2 separate regions of the Homo sapiens genome follow, and region 2 is linked to region 1. Evidence: promoter capture Hi-C in human tissues and cell types (Jung and others, 2019). All regions are on one chromosome and are shown on one strand. Each heading gives the region's core, a stretch centred on a gene start or on the middle of the fragment in contact. The rest is flanking DNA. Distances are from core to core; before and after follow the strand shown. Region 1 holds the start of MCMDC2 (minichromosome maintenance domain containing 2). Region 2 overlaps C8orf44-SGK3 (C8orf44-SGK3 readthrough).

Region 1 (6,487 bases), core at 2,820-5,319:
GAAAAAAAAAAAGAACAAAGCTGGAGGCATCATTACCTGACTTTAATATATATTACAAGGCTGGCTGGGCATGATGGCTCACACCTGCAATCCTAGCACTTTGGGAGGCTGAGATGGGCAGGTTGCTTGAGCCCAGGAGTTTGAGACCAGCCAAGGCAACATGGTGAGACCCTGTCTACAAAAAATACAAAAAAAATTAGCTGGGTGTGGTGGTGCACACCTGTAGTCCCAGCTACTAGGGAGGCTGAGGCAGAAGGATCTTCTAATAGATTTTTCTGTATTTAATACATCCTTTAAAATACCTGTTAAGTCAGGTGTGGTGGCATGCACTTATAGTTCCAGCTATTGCAGAGGCTGAAGCGGGAGGATCCCTTGAGCCCACGAGATGGAGGTTGCAGTCAGCTGAGATGGCACCACTGCATTCCAGCTTGGGTGACAGAGTGAGACCGTGTCTAAAAAAATTTTTTTTAATTATCTGATGAAAATATGTCATGGCAAAAATAAACAGAATTTAAAAATTAAAATTAAAAGAAAGCTTTGAAAAAAATTTTAAAAATAAAAAATTGGCCAGGTGCAGTGGCTCACACCTGTAACCCCAGCACTTTGACAGGCCAAGGCAGGTGGATCACCTGAGGTCAGCAGTTCGAGACCAGCCTGGCCAACATGGGGAAACTCTGTCTTCACTAAAAATACAAAAATCAGCCAGGTATGGTGGCAGGTGTCTGTAATCTCAGCTACTCAGGAGGGTGAGGCAGGAGAATCACTTGAACCTGGGAGGCGGAGGTTGCAGTGAGCCAAGATCAAGCCATTGCACTCTAGCCTAGGAGACAAGAGCAAAACTCCATCTCAAAATAATAATAATAATAATAATAATAATAATAATAATATAAAAACAAAAAATAAAAAATAAAAGCTTTGTGTTTCTCAAAACTCAAAAACTCATAAGACAATATGTAAGAGCCGTTCATTTTGCTACATATGAATTATACCTCAATGAAAAATATTAAAAGGCAAAAAAGCTATATGAAAGGCAAAAATAAAAATAATTCATAATTCTACCACCTTAATATTTGAGCCATTTTACCAGATTGCATGTAATTTCTTTCTGCTGTTTAGTGATGTTTTGTAAAAATAAAGTATTGTAAGTATGTAGCAATAAGCAGCAATGGCATTTTGACTCTAGATATCGCTATCATTTTCAGAGAGTTTGCAATGTATAAAATGTGCTGAATTCTTAAGGTTTTAAATTCCAATTTTAGGTCTAACAGATTTTTTTTTTCTAAGAGTCTCACTTTTTACCTAGGCCAGAGTCCAGTGGTGCAACCATAATGCACTGCAACCTCCCACTTCAGCCTCCCTAGTAGCTGGGACTACAGGTGCATGCCACCATGCCTGACTGTGCAGATATTTTATAGGATGTATTAAATACATAAAAATCTATTAGAAGATTTTGCTGGACTTGGTTGATATAAAACTATTACTCTGGTGCAGAAACGAACGATGTTATGCTATGAACTGATTAATCAAAACTTTAAAATAGCCAGACGCGGTGGCTCATGCCTATAACAATCCCACCACTTTGGGAGGCCAAGGCAGGAGGTTCACCTGAGGTCAGGAGTTCAAGACCAGCCTGGCCAACATGGTGAAACCCCAACTCTACGAGAAACTCAAAAATTAGCCAGGCGTGGTGGCATGTGCCTGTAATCCCAGCTACTCGGGAGGCTGAGGCATGAGAATTGCTTGAACCCAGGAGGCAGAGATCATGCCACTGCACTCCAACCTGGGCAACACAGTGTGACTCCATCTCAAAAAAAACTTTAAAATATATGGATACCCTCTAGAAGAATTTATTCTACTTTAAAATACAATGGCCATCACCAGACCATAGCCTATTCCCATCTAAAACTGTAGTTATTACCACAGAATTGTAGTACAAGACAATTTGAACATCCTCATTGTTGTTGTAAATTGATTTCTACTCTGAAAAAGTATTTTATCTCACAACTAAAATAGATTATATTCTCCCAGAGAAACAAACTCTGAGGTGTTTTGCCACTCCTATTATATATGAAAAGGGATGACCTCAATTACTTTTTCATGGAAAATGATCCAACCCAATGCAATGGAGCAGAGTTGATAACTGTATCAAGAACACTAAAGGTTGAGGCCAGGCACGGTGGCTCATGCCTGTAATCCCAGCACTTCGGGAGGCTGAGGTGGATGATTGCTTGAGCCCGGGAGTATGAGACCAGCATGGGAAACAAAATGAGACCCCTGTCTCTACGAAAAAAAATTTACAAGTTTGCCAGGCATAGTTGAAGTCTTAGCTACTTGGGAGCCTGAGGTGAGAGGATCACTTGAGCCAGGAGATTGAGACTGCAATGAGCCCTGATTGGGCCACTGTGTCCTGGGACACAGGTAGACCTTGTCTTAAAAAAAAAAAAAAGGAAATACTAATGGTGGAGAAGCAGGTACAATTTAAGGGTTTGGGGTTTTTTGGTAACAGTTTCTTTTTTTTTTTTTTTGGAGACAGGGTCTCGCTCTATCGCCCAGGTTGGAGTGCAATGGTGCGATATCTGCTCACTGCAACTTCTGCCTCCTGGGTTCAAGTGATTATCCTGTCTGCTAATAGTATTAATCCAGAGTAGCTGGAATTACAGGCGCGCGCCACCACACCTGGCTAATTTTTGTATTTTTAGTAGAGATGGGGTTTCACCATGTTGTCCAGGCTGGTGTCCACTCCCGACTTCAAGTGACCCACCCGCCTTGGCCTCCCAAAGTGCTGGGATTATAGGCGTGAACCACCGCACCCGGCCAACCTCAATAAGATTTAATTCAAGTACTGTACAATTCAACTATTTAAAATGTACAATCAACTGGCTTTCAGTAGATTCAGAGTTGTGTGACTATCACCACAATCAATTTTAGATCATTTCCATCACTTCTAAAAGAAAACCTGTGTGAATTCATGAACAACAAAAAATATGGTACACACACAGTGGAATATTATTCAGCCTTAAAAAGGAAGGAAACTCTAACATGTTACAACATGGATGAAACTGGAAGATGTTTGGCAAAGTGAAATAAGCCCATCACAAATGGACAAATACTGTTTGATTCTATTTACATGAGGTACCTGGAGTAGTCGAATTCAAGGAAGCAAAGACTGATGGTTGCCAGGGGATGAGGAAGAGAAGAATGGGGAGTTGTTTAATGTGTATGGAGTTTCAGTTTGGGAAAATGAAAACAGTTCTACAGATAGTGGTGATGAGTGCACAGTGTGAACGTAGGTAGTGTAACTACACTTTAGGATGGTTAAAATTGTATATTTTATGTATATTTTACCACAATTTAAAAAGAACAAGAAATCCCATACGCATTAGCAATCATTCTGCATTCTCAACCAACCTCTGGGCAACCACAAATCTGCTTTCTTTCCTTATGGATTCGCCTATTCTGGACATTTCATATAAACAAAATTACACAACATATGGCCTTTTGTGTCTGGCTTCTTACATAGTGTTTGCCAGGTTCATCCATGTTGTAGCATGTATTAGTGCCTCATCACGTTTTATGGCCAAAACCATTCCATTGTATGGCTTACACCACAGTTATCCATTAATCGGTGATGGGCATTCATATTGTTTCCACTTTGGGGCTACTATGAATAATACTATGAACATTCGTGTAGAAGTCTCTGTGTGAACATATGTTTTCAATTCTCTTGGGTGTATTTATAAATACCTAAGAGTGGAATTACTGGATCATAGGGTAACTTTATGTTGAGTCCTTCGAGGGAATACTGGAATGTCTTCTAAAGTGACTAGACATTTTGCATTCCCTGAAGCAGCGTTTTGAATTTTTTAAACATAACATCATTTGCCTGAGATAACAACAAAAACCAAACGTAGACCTATTTTTTCTCTGCTTCGCTGGGAGGGAGCAAGAGTGAAGCTATTAAAACGTAAGGGAACAAGCCCGGCTAGTTCCCCTGCTGACCCGAGGGCGCGGGCGGTCCCGGCAGGCCCCGCGACGCAGCCAACGGCCGGGACGTGCGCGCATGCGCGCTAGGACTCCGCTCCGCCTACGCTGCAGGCGGAGAGCAACCGCCAAGCTTGGTGGGAGTCAAGGTGAGTGCAAAGCACTACAGCGCTGGGGTCCCACTAACTCGAGGTCACCGCTGTCAGTGGGAGGGGTCCTCATGAGTCTGGACTCGCTTTCATCCGCTTTGGTTGTGAAGTGTTTTCCTGCAGTCTTCCCCTCACCAGTTCATCCCCGGTGCTGACAGGGCACGGAGAGAAGACAGAATCCGCGCCTGTTCCACGTGCAGCAACACTCGGCGTTCGTTAGACTAAGGGAAGACAGGGAGTTAGAATTTTATCCCTGTTCCCTCACTTAACGCTTTTCCACAGGCTTCTATGTCTTTTCCCGACTTAATATGCCTCCGTGAAAACGCGTCCACTCCCCAGGGCCTCCGCTTTACGCAGTGACACCCAGACTTAGCTCTAACTCTTTTGATGCCACCGAACTCCAGGCCCTGATTTATGGCCCCCTCCTGCTTACATCTATCAGGGAATCCCAAGAGTCCTCAAAGTCAGGATATCTCAAGGGAACTTTTCCTCATGTCCTTAACACTTCTCCTTGGGCTCTGTATTTCCATTAGAGCAGCAGCATCCACCCATACCCATATTAAAACCCCACTTAGCTTTCGATTACTCTTCTGCGTATTGTAGACTGATCACCAGGTCCAGTGTGCAATCTTTAAAATTCTAGAATCGATCTCCTCCATTCCATTTCGTTCCTAATGCCCTGGATCAGGCCATCCAACTTGTAGGAATATCCCAATAGGTAGAAACTGATTATCAGCTCTCCCGCTATTCCAACCTACTTTCCACATTGGCAGCAGGCACAGGTTTCCAAAATAAAAATCTGACTATGGGCTAGGCGTAGTGGCTCATACCTGTAATCCCAGCACTTTGGGAGGATGAGACAGCTACCCAAGAGTTGGAGACCAGCCTGGGCAACACAGTAAAACTCCGTCTCTACAAAAAAATTAAAAATTATCTGGATGTGGTGGCACGTGCCTATAGTCCCAGGCTGAGAAGGGAGGATAGCTTGAGCCCGGGAGGTAGAGGCTGCAGCAAGCCGAGATCACGCCACTGCAACTCCAACCTGGGCAACATAGTGAGACCCTGTCTCAAAAAAAAAAAAAATCTGACTATAATACTAACCCCCTTAAAAAAACTTTGATGGCTTCCCTTTGCCTATATAATCTTCAAAAGCGTACATAATCTGGCCTCACCCAACCATTTAATTACCAATAGTCGCCCTTCATTCCACCCCAGAAACCTAATGTTCTAGTGCAGCAAAGATGTGATGTTCTGAACACAACACACATTTTGAGATCATTGTCCTTATGGCCACGGAGAAATAAACGCTAAAGTTTCACTTTTATGTTGTAGCAAAAAGGACAGTCTTAATTGGTTTTCTTTGGAAAGTAGCCTGAACTCCACGTAGTGGGTGTGTGGATCCAGTAGTGTAAAACTGATAATGAGGGTGGAAGGTGACCTCCATCTCTGGAACACTTTCTCTTTCTCTTCACCTCTCCTCCAATTAGTGAAATAGTCGTCTATCAAATGTCACCTTAAAGTAGAATTCATACCTTCTTCCCTATGACCCCACCATCTTCAATGAAAATGTCTTAAAATAATGGAAAATGTTATGACCCATATACAAGGATGACCCCAAATTTTGTGAAATATTTCATATATGTTGTTCCTTTCATGCTACCTGGTATATTCATATTTCTATTACAGCACTTAAATTGCCATGTAACTGTTTACATATATGTCTTCTCTCACTGCACTCTTTCTGAAGGATAGGGACAATATTTTACTCATCTTAGTATCCTTAAGTGCCTAGGACAATCTAGTATCCAACCTATAGTAGGTGCCAAATAAATATTTGGTAATGAGGCCGGGTGCGGTGGCTCACGCCTGTAATCCCAGCACTTTGGGAGGCCAAGGCGGGCAGATCACTTGAGGTCAGGAGTTCGAGACCAACCTGGCCAACATGGTGAAACTCCGTCTCTACTAAAAATACAAAAATTAGCTGGGCCGGGTGACACATGCCTATAATCCCAGCTACTTGGGAGACTGAAGCAGGAGAATCGTTTGAACCCAGGGGTGGAGACTGGAGTGAGCCAAGATAGTGCCACTGTACTCCAGCCTGGGCGACAGAGTTGGGACTCCATCTCAAAAAAAAAAAAAAAAAAAAAACAACCTGGTAATGAATGAATAACGTGTTAGTCATTATTTCTGACTTCTCTGTCTCTGCCTAGCAACTTCTTGAAAGGCAGGATCCAATCTTAATCATTTTATTTTAGCACCTATTAATCATTTTATTTCTAGCACCTGTTACAACTACTGACATATATTGTTTCCAATTAGTATTTGCTGTCTTTCAATGAATTTCACATATTCCATTC
Region 2 (6,676 bases), core at 1,332-3,831, 190 kb before region 1:
CAGTGTCTCTAAAACAACACCTCTATCCTTTTTCTCTCTTCCCCTATCCCACTCATTTTCTTTTCTTTTCTTTTTTTTTGGCTCTGTCACCCAGGCTGGAGTGCAGTGGCATGATTTTGGCTCACTGCAACCTCCCCCTCCTGGGTTCAAGCAACTTGCCTGTCTCAGCTTCCCAAGTAGCTAGGACTACAGGCGCCTGCCACCACACCCGGCTAATTTTTGTATTTTTAGTAGGACGGGATTTCACCATATTGGTCAGGCTGGTCTCGAACTTCTGACCTCAGGTGATCCACCCTCCTTGGCCTCCCAAAGTGCTGGGATTATAGGCGTGAGCCACTGCGCCTGGCCCCCACTCATTTTCTTTATACCACTAATCATCAGGAATTATATGATTACTTGTCTGTTGTCATCCTTCCCCACTAGACTCTTTAGTAAGGCTTTTCATAAGGGCAGGCAGTTTGTTGATTGTTGGATTCCCTGTGCCAGGCATATATAGCCTGAATAGATATTGTTGAATGAATTAATGGCTATCATCTATGGCAGTGTGTTTCAGCCTGATATTCAAGCATAAGTTCCTGGAGAATCCACCATTTGGTTGCAGTTTAAAAATGTTTATGTTGTCATTTTGATGCTAATCTAAAGCAAAGTCATATTGTGATTTTTCCAGATGAGTACCTTAAAACATGAAGTTTTGAGAGCCTGAATTCACACCAAGTTTAGGATTTTGTTTTTATCAGTTGAAAGCCAATGAACATTGTGACAAAACGTGTAAGGTTTCACGATCATTTTGAGAAAAGAGGTGGGAGAGTTGAGTCATCACATGTCACACAGTAGCCCATGGCAAACTCAGTGCTGTAACTGTTGGTGCCACGTTCCTACTAAAAATAGAAATTGCACATAACACACATGCACTTACATATATTTGCAACAACTTAGTCACTGTAAGTAAAGTAGTAAATACACAATGAGGAATTTTTTTTTATTTCCCAGGAAGGCTTAAATTAGATACCATATAATTCAGATTTAAAATAGTCGAAAAAATACTAACCTTATCTTAAAGTGAGTAGACTCTAATCGAGTGATATTCAAATAAAACTGGCTTTCCAGGGTTTTGTAGTGCCAGAATTTTTGTTAAAATTTGAGATCTGATTATTTCAAACTAGCAACAGAAGACCAGGAAGTTAATAATGCAGTGTATTTGTGCAAACAGCTGTTTTTGCATTGACATTATTAAATGTACAGAGGGCCTGGGAGCAGTGACTCATGCCTGTAATCTCAGCACTTTGGGAAGCTTAGACTGGAGGATTACCTAAGGCCAGGAGTTCAAGAACAACTTGGTCAACCCCATCTCTACAAGTAATAAATTTAAAATTTTTAAAAGTTAGCCAGCTGTACTGGTGTGTGCCTGTAGTCCTAGCTACTCAGGAGGTTGAGACAGGAGGACTGATGGAGCCCAGGAGTTTGAGGCTGCAGTGAGCTATGATAGTACCACTGCACTCCAGCCTGGGTGACAGGGAGAGATGCTGTCTCTAAAATAAAAATAAACATACAGAGACACATTTAACGTAGAAATAGATCAGAAGTTGAATCTTAATGCTCATAAAGCTAACACTTTACAATTCAAGTTACTATTGATTTTATTTTATTTAATTTATTTATTTATTTATTTATTTGAGACAGAGTCTCACTCTGTTGCCTAGGCTGGAATGGAGTGGTGCAATCTTGGCTCCCTGCAATCTCCGCCTCCCAGGTTCAAGCGATTCTCCTGCCTCAGCCTCCTGAGTAGCTAGGATTACAGGCATGTGCCACCATACCCAGCTAATTTTCGTATTTTATTTTATTTTATTTTTGTAGAAACGGGGTTTCGCCATGTTGGCCAGGCTGGTCTTGAACTCCTGACCTCAGGTGATCCGCCTGCCTCAGTCTCCCAAAGTGCTGGGATTACAGGTGTGAGCCACCGCGCCCAGCCGAGTTACTATTAATTTTAAATGGCAAAACCAAACAACCAATATTGTTGGAGCAGAAGAATGCTTATCACTGCAATTCTATTACCTTTGCCTGTTACCTGTCTTTATTTTCCCTTTATTTAGAACCTGAAGGGTGCTTTTAGGGTGGAAGAATATAAAGTTTAAGAATTTGCTTAAGTGAAACACTTGTTATATCTTCATTCTAGTAACATTCTAGTTTTTGTAGAAGGGCCTGATCCCTCTCTCTGACCCATTTAACTCTGTCTCCTAAACACAGTCTAATTCAGTTCCTTTTGTATGACATAAAAATCAGAATAAGAAGTACCTGACATACTTTCTACATCTGTAGTTGCGGAAGACATTTTAATAGGTAAGAGCAAAAGCACAAGCCTGCATACTTCTTTTTTAACCCTGTGGATCATTTAAATAAATCCTTTCGTATTATTCCAAGATATAAGTGCATTGTGATGATGTATAAGAATTTAAATATAAGGCAGTCTGCAAGCAGGGTTTTTTATGTAGATGGGCAGCAGTTTATTGTAGGAAATTATGTGTATGTACTTAAATTAAAGCATCAGCACTAGGTGTCCGCAGATTACATCAAAGAGGGCCTCAAATTGAGTATCAGTAAAATCGCAAGAAATGGACTACATCCTTTACAAGGACACCTCTGGTACAACATTTTCCTGTTCAAACATTAATTTCCACATAGCCTGGCATTTGGCAGGTTATGTGCCATGAATTCTGTGGATATTAGTAGGCATCATGTTGAAGGAAGGGTTCTGTAGTCAAATGCGGACTAAATTAGTTTTATTCTTTTTCCACTTTAGGTCTTCTCATAGCCTTTCTTTGCTAAGGACATTGTGACTCTCCAGAGAGCAACAGTGATGGCTCTAGAATGTCTAGGAAAAAGAAGGGCTTAATGTCAGGAGTCTGCTTGGGGCACACAACACTAGAAGATGTCCTTCTGCACATTGTTTCATATCGAGTGTGTATTTTGTGGTGATCTGGGATGCTGATAGAAATAATTGGATGTTAGTGCCCTAAGCCACCTCTGCACTATTTTTTTTATTTATTTATTTTTTGAGACAGAGTCTCGCTCTGTCACCCAGGCTGCATTGCAGTGGTGCAATCTTGGCCCACAGCAACCTCTGCCTCCCAGGTTCAAGCGATTCTCCTACCTCAGCCTCCCAAGTAGCTGGAATTACAGGCACCTGCTACAACACCCGGCTAATTTTTGTAGTTTTTGTAGAGACGAGTTTCACCATGTTGACCAGGCTGGTCTCAAACTCTTGACGTCAAATGATCCACCTGCCTCAGCCTCCCTAAGTGCTGGGATTACAGGCGTGAGCCACCGCGCTTGGCCCTCTCTGCGCAATTATTGATATGTAGCATTTTCACACTTCTATGGCCATGAAACCATTTTGAACCTGTATCAGAGGCGCACACTTTAGGAAAAACCAATACAGACAATAGTGCCTCTTGTTACAGTTTTTGCTTTTATCAGTGTGTTGGAAAAGGTCCTCTTTATCCCCAAGATCAGTTAATGCTTCCTTATGTTGTCATTTCTGTGGGCTTTTTTCCATTTAATGTTTTAATCCAGTTGAAATGTATTTTTGTATATGATGTAAAAGACATTCAACTCATTTTGTGTATGTATTTATTGATTGAAAAATGCCAGTTATTTCCAAACCTTGCGTTAAATGTGTTTTTGTTTTTCTTTTCAGGTATGGAACCCTTCAGATCAAAGCTTACCAATAAATTCAGTATGTAGAACAGATTAACGTAGTTGAAATGAGGAAGAATGAGAGTTATCTCAACCAGCCAGCACCCCCTATCCCCATTCCCACACTTTCCCTCATGGGAGGCTGTCGGGAGCACTTCGAAAACCACTGGAAAGGCCGGGCACGGTGGCTCATGCCTGTAATCCCAGCACTTTGGGAGGCCAAGGCAGGCAGATCACCTGAGGTCAGGAGTTCGAAACCAGCCTGGCCAACATGGCGAAACCCCATCTTTACTAAAAATACGAAAATTAGCCAGGTGCGGTGGTGCATACCTGTAATCTCAGCTACTTGGGAGGCTGGGGCAAGAGAATCACTTGAACCTGGGAGGCAGAGGTTGCAGTGAGCTGAGATCGTGCCGTTGCACTCCAGCCTGGGTAACAGAGCGAGACTTCGTCTCAAAAATAAAAAAAAAACCCATTGGAAAAATTCATCCTCTCATAAATGACTTGAAATGCCACCTCCGTAATACACTACGTTAAAAATTTTACATACTCAAATTGTTTTTCTCTTTTTGTGCCAGGTCATACTTTAAGGAGCCCAAGAGCTTTATAACATAACAAAAGAAACTGAAATGTCTAATAAATGTGTACATAACAATATGAGTTGTTTGTGTTTTTTTGGCCTATAAAATTAGCATAGATCTTTAAAATAATATACAGTATTGGTAAGAGCTGAATAAATACCTTTAATATAGAGAAGGTTTAACTTAGTAAAACTATGTTTGGTAGATAATGTGTGTCAAAAGTTTACAATGCTCATATCCTTTGATCCAGCATCTCACTTATAGGGTTTCACCCTAAAGAAATAAACAGAAATGTGTGAAAAAAATTTGCTGTTGTTTATATTATTGACAAAATTGAAGATATCAATAACAGTATGAGACTGGGTAAGTGAATCATGGCACATCCCCATGAGATGGGATACTCTTCAGCCATAGAAGTGATATTGTAGAAAGAAAAATATTGAGTGCTTGTGATGAACCTGGCACCATACCAAGCACCTCATTTATACTGTCTGAAGCCTAACAATACCCCATACGATAGGTATTATTATTCCCATTTATAGGTGAGAACACCCTCAGAATTCTAAGTTAGGTAAAGTTCAGCTAGTAAGGTAGTGTTGGTAGTGTAAGGTAGTGTTGCTGGAATTCAACACATGTCTACTCTTAACCCTTATTCTTAGCCACTGTCATGATACAGGAAAATACTATTTACTGATAAGTTTCTAGTAATTTAACTGACATTAAACACATGAAAACTATATGCAATTCCTTCCTTTCCAAAGTTCCTAGGTTTGGTAATTTTTTATCCTAAAATGAATTTATATGTTTTTTATTGCTTATGGAAGTATTAGATGCCTACTCTTAAGAATTCAAACTGTACAGAAGATTATAAAGTAGCTGCATCTTTAGTCATAAATTATACCCTCTGTATATGATACGATAGATTCATAGGCTCTTTCTGTTCCCTCAATTCTGTTCTTGCTGTGGTATCAGCTTGTGGGCCCTGGTTGGGGATAGAGATGAACTAGAAAGGCAAACTGAGTGGGGTGCAGGTGTGAGTGGTTGACTTTCACCACAGGTGATTAGAAACACTGATTCTGGAGCCAATCTGGCTAGATGGAGTCCCAGCTCTTACTTACCAGCTGTTTGGACTTGGACAACTAATAGGAGTGCTTACTGTGTGTGATATGCATACATGGTTTCCCCATTTGTCTTTATGAGTTAGATGTTTTTATTCCCTTTTTATACAGATGACAAAACTAAAATTCAGGGAGGTTACGTATGGAAGTAGAATGAATCATTAGACCCATTTCTAGGACTACAGACAAGATAAATACTGAAAGCTGCTTGTCCAGGAGATAGCAAAATGCTGACAAATGAGAAACAGACCTGCATAGCCATCACACCCTCTAGAACCAAGGGGTAGTGTTTTAAGATAGAGGACTGGGTGAGTATCAGAAAGCTGTGCTTTGAAAACCTGACTGCTTTTAAGTATTTCCTGTTTTGTTCTCATTTTGTAGGTATTAGAATTATTTCTGAATTATCAGTCTCTCATTTGTGCTTTGGAGAAGCAGAAAAGGCAAAAGGGGTCTTTGGCCATCTTCTGCTGGAGCTTCCAGGGAGGATGTGTCTCCAAGAGACCAGATGTACCGAGTTTGAAATCCCAGAAGCCCAAGAGGAAAAGAATCACAGGGAGGAAAAGACTGTCCAAAGGCTTCTGGAGTCTTCTGTTCTCTAACCTTGGAAGGTTTTGAACAATATTTCTCAGAGGATAGCCTTTCACTTATTCATCTGTCCAGCATGACTCATCCCCGGGAGTGTTGAGTAAGTGAAATTTTGCTGTATTCATGTTTTTGTGACTTATAAAATAGGATGATAAGGAGAGAACATGAACTCTGGAGTCAGACCTGTTACCTCGGACATGATACTCTTAGCTTTGTCATTTAGTATTTGAGTAATTTTGGGCAAGCTAACATCTCTGGTCGTTCTCATCTGTAAAATGAGAATAAATGAAACCCACTAACCAGAATTGGTATGAAAATGAAATGTGGCAGAAAAAAAATGAAAGTGAATAGTATCACCACTGACACACAAGCACTAAAGGCCCTTCCTGTCTCCATCAGGTATGGATTTGGGGCAACATTTGGCCAGGTCTTGTTTATCTTTCTGTTCATCTATTCTGTCTAATTCAGTGCTTTGTTTACAACGAATGTCTTACAAATGCTGACTGAACACTAGCATACCTGCATGAACAACAGGTAAATAAATTTTAGATGTGTTTTAATGTTTATTAATCTATCCTGTCAGAGAAGAACTGCCAGTTATAGATAAATATGATGCCAGGTCAGGGCTGAAGAGTTGGGCAGGTTGTTATCTGCATGGGGTCACTAGGTTCCAGTGGAGAGGTGGGGGCTAAGCTCTCA

The links. Contacts are between HindIII fragments. The study calls those that stand out against the background at their distance.
Region 2: a fragment that was not itself captured here is called in contact with the fragment with the promoter of MCMDC2 in region 1 in 1 of the 25 tissues and cell types used here (hippocampus).

What each region holds. Positions count from the first base shown.
Region 1 is chr8:66,866,702-66,873,188 of GRCh38, forward strand. It overlaps MCMDC2 (minichromosome maintenance domain containing 2), which reads left to right and starts at 4,070. Exons shown (of 15, transcript NM_173518.5): 1 at 4,070-4,130. RefSeq lists an enhancer at 4,287-4,356. The HindIII fragment of the contact is 9,372 bases long and covers 725-6,487 here.
Region 2 is chr8:66,673,948-66,680,623 of GRCh38, forward strand. C8orf44-SGK3 (C8orf44-SGK3 readthrough) reads left to right here. Exons shown (of 19, transcript NM_001204173.2): 2 at 5,774-6,077. C8orf44 (chromosome 8 putative open reading frame 44) reads left to right here. Exons shown (of 2, transcript NR_161217.1): 2 at 5,774-6,676. Among named protein-coding and RNA genes, the nearest start is that of C8orf44-SGK3, 9.7 kb to the left of the region's middle. The HindIII fragment of the contact is 5,996 bases long and covers 1-5,579 here.